Regions from separate parts of the Homo sapiens genome. Here region 2 is linked to region 1. Evidence: promoter capture Hi-C in human tissues and cell types (Jung and others, 2019). All regions are on one chromosome and are shown on one strand. Each heading gives the region's core, a stretch centred on a gene start or on the middle of the fragment in contact. The rest is flanking DNA. Distances are from core to core; before and after follow the strand shown. Region 1 holds the start of ZNF662 (zinc finger protein 662). Region 2 overlaps SNRK (SNF related kinase).

Region 1 (4,902 bases), core at 1,189-3,688:
TGGGAGCCCATCTGAGGTCTCTTTTGCTCTGTGACTTTTCACAGGTATGGTATCTGTAAGTGCTTAGTACCTGGGGAGCTATTCAGGCATCAGAGCATCTGAGCCTGTGGACTTGAATTCCATGTTTATCTTCCTACCTTATTCACCCCGAGACATTGAATATACAAATGGGCAATGGCCATACTACATAGAAAAACAGGACTGTGTCACACAATCTGTAGCAACCAGTCCAGGAAGCCAACCCATTTTCTATGGTAACCACTCTAGGAAGTCAAACCACTAAATCACTATCTGTGGCAACCAGTCCACTAATCAAAACAATAACCCTGGTAGCAATTGACCCCAAACAGCTGGGATTTGATCTCTTCCTTCCTTCCTCCCTCCCTCCCTCCCCTCCTTCCTTCCTTCCCTCCTTCCTTCCTTCCTCCCTCCCTTTTCCTTCCTTCCTTCTTCCCTTCTCCTTCCTTCCTCTCTCCCTCCCTTCCCTCCTTCCTTCCCTCCTTCCTTCCTCCCTTCCTTTTCCTTCCTTCCTTCTTCCCTTCTCCTTCCTTCCTTTCTTTTTCTTTCTCTCTCTTTTTCTTTCTTTCTCTCTCTCTCTTTCCCTCCTTCCCTTCCTTCCTTCGTCTCTTCTTTCTTTCCCTCTCTCCCTCCCACTCTTTCTTTCTTTCCCTCCCTCCTTTCCTTCCTTCCTCTTTCCTTCTCTTCTCTTTTCTCTTCTTCTCTTTCTTCTTTCCAGGTTCTTGCTGGAGTGCAATGGTGCAATCACAGCTCACTGCAGCCTTGACTTCTCAGGCTCAAGTGATCCTCCCATCTCAGACTTCTGAGTAGCCAGGAGCTGGCTATTTTTCTTTATTTCTTTCTTTCTTTCTTTTTTTATTTTTGTAGAGATGGGGTAGCAATTTGATTAAAAACTATCAGATTCCCTACTTTTTCCCATACTACTTCCAACTTAGGACCAAACAGAGAAAGCCAAAAATTTCCCCCTACCAATTACATAAGATTCCCTGCTTCTAGTTAGCCCGCCTGTAGTTTCCCCATGCCAGCAACTTCCAATAAGGGAATACCTGAAGCCATTCCTTTTTTCCACTGTGAAGCTTTCCCCACTCTTCTGCCTGACTTTCAGTCTGCTGAATGCAAGTGATGAGGGCTGACTCTCTTGTCATATATAGCAAGCTCTGAATAATAGTCTTTGTTCTCATTTGAATAATCTTTATTTTCACACTTCTTAAAAAATTTAATTTCCTGGCATGTTGCATAATGTTAGGTAAGCCATTTTCTCTCTTTGGGCCTTACTTTCTTCAACTGAAAAACTGGTTCAACATTTATTCATTCTTTTATTCCGTAAGCCAAAAATAAAATTCAAAGCCCTCTGACCATATGAATGGATCTCTCCTCTTGGCTAAGGGCATTCCAAAGTTAACGTGAAAAACTGGTTCAGGCCATAATGGGAAGGAGGAGTTGGACATGGCTCATTATGCTCCCCTACCTTTTGAAATTCAGGACCAGCTGACCAGCATTAACATCAACACAGACCTTAAGACTGATAGAACAGCCTCTTTAAGTCTCACAGACTATCCGGTAGTGTGATAATGATGAGAAACATTTGCAGTCTATTCTCTGAAGCCTGCTACAGGCTCCATCTGCATGATAAAACTTTGGTCTCCACAAGCCCTTATCTTAACTGAGACATCCCTTTCTATTGATTCTAAGTCTTTATACAATAACTTAACTCTTTCAACCAATTGCCACTCAGAAAATCTTTGAATCCACCTATGTCCTGAAAGCCTCCTCTTCCAGTTGTCCCACCTTTCCATACCGAACCAACGTACATCTTACATGTATTAATTGATGTCTTATGTCTTCCTAAAATGTGTAAAACCAAGTTGTAGCCCGACCACGTTGGGCACATGTTCTCAGGATCTCCTGGGGCTGTGGCACGGGCCATGGTCACTCATATTTGGCTCAGGATAAATCCCTTCAAATATTTTACAGTTTGACTTTTCGTGGACAATTCTACAAATATTCCTTGGCAGTTAAAGAAATAACTCCCCAGGAGGTGCTAGACATCGGGCGCATGTTAGAGGCACAAAGATGAGAATGTTAAAAGACATAAAATACAGGTCTGCTCTGGGAATGCAAAAACTGGTAAAAGGAGAGATAAAAGAGCAGGTGCAGTCTAGTGAAGTACCCGCTACCTCCTATCAGCAAATATCTGTCCACCTAGGGTGCAGCGAGCTGGAGAGGAAGGGGTGGCCTAGAGCGCAGGGGAAGGATTCCTCCCCAGCCGCCTGCACCCCTACCCCGGTAGCGGTCCCTGGGATCGTCCGTGTCTCCAGGAGAACCGGACCGCTCTCCCCTCCCTCCCCGAGCGAGAAAGGAGGACCACAGAGATGCGGCGCCCTCCGCCGTCCTAGAGCAACCGGAGCGGCCCGAGCCCCGGCCTCCCGGATGCTGGGGCCTGGCGGGTGTGGAGCACGGGGAGTCGGGCGTGGGGCGGGCAGGGAGTGGAGTCGGGGTCTTACTCCGGTGGCTGCAGGGCGCAGGGTAGCCGTGTCAGGCCTGCCCAGGTGCAGAGCGCTCTTCCGCGACCCCAACAGCCTCTGGTCCGGTCTGGCGCGCCCTCGCTTTCCCAGAGGGCGACCTGGGCTATGGCGGCCGTGGCGCTGGCGAGCGGGACACGCCTCGGCCTTGTCCTCGAGCTGCTCCCGGGACAGCCCGCGCTGCCCCGGGCGCGCCGGGTGAGTGCGGGGCCGGAGCCTGGAAGCAGTCTTGGCCCTGCCCTGGGTTCTAGGCCCGGAGACGGGGTGGTGCGGCGGCTGGGAAATGGGGGTACAACCCAGAGTGAGGGGCCTCGAGGGACAGGCAGCACAGCGGAGTCGACACCCCTGGACCTGAGCCTCAAGGAGAGCAGACGTGCAGCGGCACGGGGTTGAGCCGACTGCTGGGGCAGAGCGCACAGAGTGCTGTCGGGGGCGATGAATGGCCAGAATTTCAGAGCTGCCTTTACAGAGCTGGTTATGTTTGAGCTGGGTATTAGGTTGAAAAGGAATTTGCAATGCAGGAGCAGGAAGGAAGAACTGGATATTCAGGCAAGAGTAGCCGCAGGTGCAAGGACACAGAACAGGGTGAGGAAAGAGTTTGGTTTCCCAATGCAATGGTGAGAGGATCGGAGATGAGAGTGGTGGTGGCTGATGATCCTGGCCAGGAAAGCTGGGTCTGTGAGTAGTGAATGGAATTGTCTGTAGTGCAGAGGAATGTGGACTCTATTAGGCAGACAAAGTTGAGCCAGCCAAAGCCTTGGAGCCCTGGAGTGCTGGATAAATAGCTGTGGAGACTTTCTAGTGCGCAAGGACTGAAGTGCAGTGGACCAGAATGGGCTCCTCCACAGTGTGGAGACTGAGACCCTGAAGGAGGCAGTGGCTGAGAATTACGGGAAGTCCCAACGGCTGGAGGTCAGCAGTATTTGTTTCTTAAGAGGATGAGAGAAAGAAGGTGCAGGAGCTGAGACTCCTAGAGATATAGAAAATGGGGACATGGAGATTGGGACGTGGGTAAGCAAGTGAGGTGGGATCTTTGTGAGAGTGTTGCGGGTGGTGGGGGTGCAGGGAGTAAAGTCACAACGAGGATCTGCCCTGTTGAGTACAGTGTTCAGAGCAACCTGAATGTTCTGAGGAGCCCTAGCTGCCTCTGTGGCTGGTGGCAGTGACTGGGGAGGACAAAGGAGGAAGAGTCCTATACAGGGGCAGCAGGGATGGCAGGAATGGGGACGGAAGGCAGTGTGGCATAACAGGCAAGAGCCAGAGTCAAACAGGCCTGGGTTCTGTCTCAGTTCTGGAACTTTGGGGGAAGTTAATCCCTCCGAGTCTCAGTTTCCTCTTCTAAAAAACGGATCTGATAGTAGGCTATGAGACATAACAAAGAATATATGTCAAGTGCTTGGCACAGGCTTAATAAATGATAGTTGTTATCAAGGGTGGGTGACCTCTGAAGGAGGACACATTGTGGAGAGAGGATGGGACCTAGAGCACAGATGTGGTTTGGGGTATAAGGATGAAACAAGAAAACTTTTGCAGACTCATGAAAAAGAGGAGAAAATGTTTGCTGAAATAAAGATGAAGAGACATGAGAAAATTGATGGCTGATGCCTTGTCTCTTTGTACATAGGAGGCAAAAATCTTCTGCTGATAGAGTTCCTGTAGACATTCAGAATCCAGAATCCCCACAGGCACCCCCACAGTACCTTTTGATGCCCTGTCTCCCCTTCCTCTTGGCCTGGTCCTGGGGTTGTCCTAGGGCATTTAAACACATGTTGTTTCAGGAGTCAGTGACCTTCGAGGATGTGGCCGTCTACTTCTCTGAGAACGAATGGATCGGCCTGGGCCCTGCTCAGAGAGCCCTGTACAGGGATGTGATGCTGGAGAATTATGGGGCTGTGGCTTCCCTGGGTAAGGGTCTCTCCCTTTGGGCCCTGCCTCCACCCTTGAGAGTTTGCTGGCTCCTTTTTTCTCAAAGGCTCAGGAGTTGTTGATAACCCTCAGCTCAATGGCAGCTTCAGGCTCTTGGATTTTTAATGACCTAACCTCAGCAGCCGTTGGAAAGTAGGAAGTCCTGGTATCAGTTTGGGCCTTATACAGGACTTCCTTGCTCCAGAGTGAGAGGTGCCAAACCCCTACCCTTGTGTTGTGGGTATAGTGAGAAGAGAGCAAATTCATGGTGCTCCACTGAGCCTTCAGTTCCCTCCCCTCTCGGTTTGCAAGATCCAGCCTAATTCCAAGCATCCTCATGAGGATGTCTGAACTTGAGAGCTCTAAGAGGGAGAGGACAGGTAAGAATTGAGGACTCAATTCCTCAATGAGTGAAATCATCCATTTGCTGACTCAAACAGTTACTGAGTCGTCTGTC
Region 2 (4,902 bases), core at 1,120-3,619, 390 kb after region 1:
GGTCCAGCCTAGTTATATGCCTGTGCTAAATAAAAAGGTTGCTCTAGAATGGCCTATCTAGTGGTTGCTGTGTAAAGACATGTTATCTTAGCTGTATAGTCATTTAAAATATTGATCTAGAAGAACTTAGTGCATGGGAAAATGTTCAGTTTATAAAATAGAGGAAAAAGTAGTTATCAAACTTCATGTCGAAAATCTTAGCTTTGTAAAGAACTGTTAAGTATAGAGGATGTACACTCGGACCTGATGAGAAGTCATCATAGATGAGCGTATAGGTGATTTTTACTTTCTTCTTTGTGCTTTTATGCATTTTCTAAACTTTCTAAAGTGAAAGTCTTGTATTAACTTTTCCAGCTTGTTTTTTGGAGAGAAGTATTGTGAAAATAGTTACAAATCTCTTTTTACCCTGACATCCCCCCAAGCCCGTAAGTATTATCCCCATTTTATTTTTTAAAATTGTGTCTGGCCATATATTATGAATAGAAAATAATTTGAAAGAATCTATACCAAAATGTAAAGCGATGTTATCATAAAGGGTGGGATAATGGATTTTTTTTTCAAAATTCCTCCCCCCCTTTTTTACTAGTCTGTATGTTCTAATTGTAGTTTTCTCCTGAATTAAACAGATTTTTCTTTCATAATTGTTTTTGAGATTTTCTGTAAGAATATATTTGATGTGAAAAAATGTAAAGGAGTATTAAGTCCTTTTTGAAAAGCTAAATTTGATAGAAAATTATATTAATATCATTTTAAAAGCAAATACTTACATTTTGTGAGATATTTTATTGAAAAACCCCCAGTCTTTGATGCCTAACTAGAGACATTATTTCCTATACCTTACAGCACTCATTTTCAATTTATTTTAGGAAACTGAACAGCAGTTCAGTTTCTGAACTGGTCTATCTTATGAAAGCAAAAGAGAGATAATAGTTTGGTGAATTCATTCGCTTGAAGTAGGGTCAGCAACTGAAAGAATTTCTGCTTGGATGGTGGGAACGTCGTCTGTAACAATGATGGTGGTGGTGGTAGCTGGTATTTACAGAATGCTTACTCTGTGCCAGGCACTATTCTAAACACTTTACCTATATTAAGTCGTTTGATCCTCACCATATCTTATGAGATTGTTTTCTTATTACTAACATTTTCTAATGAAGAAACTGACCATACAGAGAGGTGAAGGTAACTTGCTGAGTTCCTTTGGCTAGTGATTGGTGAGCTGGGATTCAAATGCAGTTGTTGGTCTTTAGAACCAGTACTTATTACTGTACTACCGCACTGCTTTGCCACAGAGACTAGGGATGAAACAGGGGCTGCTGGAAAAAGAGAAGCAGGCAAGGATAGTGGAAGGAGCTACTATATCCCTCTTGGAGCTGAAGAACCAGTCAGGTAGGCATCCCAGGGTTCATCTGTCACTAGATATGGACCTGTGCCCATGGCTTTGCCAGCCCTGTGTGTGCTGCAGAACTGTTGCTCCACATTCCCTCATTCCTGGCAGGACACTTGCTTTCATATCCAGAGGTCAACCACCTTTCCTCGTCCTTTCACCTGTCCTATCTTGTTTCCTCCATTCCCTTGCACTCCTTTTCTCCCAAGTGCATTTGAACTTTACCTGGACACCTCTCACCATTAGTGTATAGTGTAAATTATCATGTTGGCATAATGTGAATGTTTAGGCCTCTCTGTTATTCATGTAATAGTTTATTTTCATGGGAAGACCTGCAAGGCTACCTTGGTCAGTATTCCCTCATTGTGCCATGAAGTTTGGATATAAGTGATTTGCTCACATTCCTTTTGTTTGTGGTGATAGTTTCTTTGTTACTATCAAGTGACAGTCCTCGGATGATGAAGGTGCTTTGTGTGATCCCTAATGCTGGCATCATAAGTGATTTCCACTTGCCTTCTAGAGGACAGTGTGTTGTAAAGCTTGCCGTCCTTGGCTGCTATAGCGTGAGGGTTTCATGAGCCTTTAGGGGCTCCTAGAGACTGGGTGGTTTTGGTGCCAGGCTGAGCATGATTGGAGCTAGAGACTGCTGCTTCACAGGCAAGTTAAGCCTCATTGTACCTACTATGCAGTTTCATGGGGAGGATTCAGTGAAATGTGAGTTCGGGGCCTGTTGCAAGAGGCATTTTAAAAATGGCAATTGTACTGTTGTTCATTATTATTATTATTTTTGAGATGGAGTCTCGCTTTGTCACCCAGGTTGGAGTGCAATGGCGCCATCTCGGCTCATTGCAACCTCCGCCTCCTGGGTTCAAGCAAGTCTCCTGCCTCAGTCTCCTGAGTAGCTGGGATTACAGGCGCCCGCCTCCACGCCTGGCTAATTTTTGTATTTTTAGTAGAGACGGGGTTTCACCATATTGGTCAGGCAAGTCTTGAGCTCCTGACCTCATGATCCACCTGTCTCGGCCTCCCAAAGTGCTGGGATTACAGGCGTGAGCCACCGCACCCGGCCTTGTTCATTATTATTTCTTCATTCCAGTGGAATAATTTTTCTGACCTGTCTACCTGGAACAATCTCTGTTCACTCTGAAATCCCTGTTTATTAAATTTCGCTTAAAGGAGTTGTAATTCACAGAAGGCAGAAGGATAATAGGAGACTGGGTTACTAAAGACAAATTTTACTATTTTTATACATGTGTCTAGATCCAGCCTTAGAGTATATACTTTGACTTTAAGCAAAATTCAAACAAATAGAACTAAACCTGTATCTTTTTCTTTATTTTCTTTTAGGAAAAAGAAGCAACTAACAAAACACTGTGATAATAAGGATTATTCAGTATGCAGTTTGCAGGGTATGTCTTGGAGACAGTACAAATTCACCTTTACTTTATATAAGCCACATCTTAACATTGGGCATTGATGTTCAGAATGACTTTTGGGAGCTGCAAGATCCTCAGAGATCAAAAAAAATGATTTAGTTACTTTGTACTCTAACTCAAAATGTACTTAATAGTAGGATTAGACAGTAGACTAGTGTTTAAAAAGATGTTCAGGAACAAGGATATTTTTCGTCTAAACTTTCAGTTAATCATTGTGTCCTGTTCTTAGCTATACAATTTAATTGTGGTTTCATAGACTATGGAAAAGGGGTGCTCATATAAAAAGTAAATTATTTGGTAGTAAGAGTGATTGTTTCACTATAGGGTACTCATTGTGAAGATACCAATTAGATTATTTCTATTTAATCTATAGCTTGCTATAGATTAAAAATCATTTCACTGTGCCCTCTTGCTGGCAAAGGTTTGGGAAGAGAAACATTAGGGTTTAATAGTACTTATCTCTAGGTGTCTGAGGCTCTGAAAAAAAAGCTTTTTCATTTATTTTTGTAATAAAACTTTTATTTTCAAAAATCAGATTCATTTATAAAATCTGATTTATATGTCACTTTCCAGGAACACATCTAAACTAAAATGATAGATGAAAAGAACAAAGTTATATAACTTGGGGGCAGCCTGAAGGAATGTGTTTTGAAAGCTAAAGTGGCATTTGCAAGCTTATGCAATAGCAACAGACTTGGGTGGAATTTTAAGCATAATTATTGCCCTTGTAATTAATTGAAGTTAAATATTTAAAGATAGTTTCCTGCCCCCCCCCCAGAGTTTTTATATTTGAAAATTAAATATACCCAAATTAAAATTTCTTTTGGGGAACTGCTGTCCAAATAAAGCAAGGTCTTTCAATTTGGATTTTCCTGTTAATCCTGTCATTAAAGTTATTAGTTCAGATGACAGGGATAATATACATATGGAAGAAATTTGCTTCCCCCCACACACACCTAGGCATTGTATCAGTTTCTTATTTAAAAATCTTAATAGTTTAAAAATCTTAATAGCAGGATTAATAGTTTTGGTTCTGAAATCAGTTTGCAGACACAGCGTAGCATAGTGTTTTAAAGCACGGACTTTGGTGTCAGACAGCCGTGGGTTTCAGTCCCAGCTCTTTTACACACTGGCCATTTGGCCTAGGCCAAGTTACTGTGCCTCAAAAGGGGGTTAATAATTCCTGTCTTTGAGGGGAATTGTGAGGATTGAATGAGGATAATGTGAAGTATTTGGTATGTGACTGGTGTGTAATACTCATTCAGTAAATGGTAGTGCTATTTATTATTACAATAATTACTAAAGTGCAAAAAATATATTAGTAAACATATTAACATTGACTTTTTGAACTTATAATTTAACATACATAAATTTTTTGAGGGGGTTCTAGGTATGCAATTCAGATCATTTCTGAAGTGGTATAAATATAAAAGTGACTTTATGCTTCTTTTATAGTTGGTATTTTAACTCTAAAAATAATATTATCCTAAATGGGGCATTGATTAGAGTGGCCAAATGTTTATAAACAATGTGGGCTTTGAAATGTATTAATTAGGTGTGAATCCTAGGTTTTGTAGTTAATGTCACTTGTACCTAGAGCAGCCTATTGCCTTAGCTATAAAAATGAGACCAGTGCTGACTGGCCAGGCACGGTGGCTCCAGCCTGTAATCCTTGTACTTTGGGAGGCCAAGGCAGGAGGATTGCATGAGGCCAAGAGTTCAAGACCAGCCTGAGCAACATAGCAAGACCCTGTCTCTAATAAAAATAAATAGCAGTTTTTAAAAATTAAAAAAAAACTTACCTATTATATGTCAAATTTCGTTTTTTGGGATATTTTTATCTAAGTGGACTCAATAATTAATGCTCTTAATATGTAACTGAAAATGTGAAACTGTATATTGAGAGCAGTAGAAAAAGCTTCGTCAAAGGGATAGATACTGACTAATGGGAGAGAGCTAGCCTTAGGAGGTTGCTATATTCCTTGTTGGATTTTGTTACTCAGTTCTATTAAATGTTGGTCAGAACAAAAGTGAGGGTTCAGCCTGTGAGATATAAAGTTGCATCTTGTTTAATTTTATACA

Evidence for each region. The method cuts DNA at HindIII sites, captures the fragments that hold promoters and counts their contacts. A contact is called where the count stands out against the background at its distance.
Region 2: a fragment that was not itself captured here is called in contact with the fragment with the promoter of ZNF662 in region 1 in 1 of the 25 tissues and cell types used here (bladder).

The regions. Positions count from the first base shown.
Region 1 is chr3:42,903,704-42,908,605 of GRCh38, forward strand. It overlaps ZNF662 (zinc finger protein 662), which reads left to right and starts at 2,439. Exons shown (of 5, transcript NM_207404.4): 1 at 2,439-2,465; 2 at 4,319-4,445. The coding sequence starts at 4,412. The HindIII fragment of the contact is 13,922 bases long and covers 1-4,902 here.
Region 2 is chr3:43,297,023-43,301,924 of GRCh38, forward strand. SNRK (SNF related kinase) reads left to right here. Exons shown (of 7, transcript NM_017719.5): 2 at 2,732-2,793. Among named protein-coding and RNA genes, the nearest start is that of SNRK, 13 kb to the left of the region's middle. The HindIII fragment of the contact is 3,494 bases long and covers 623-4,116 here.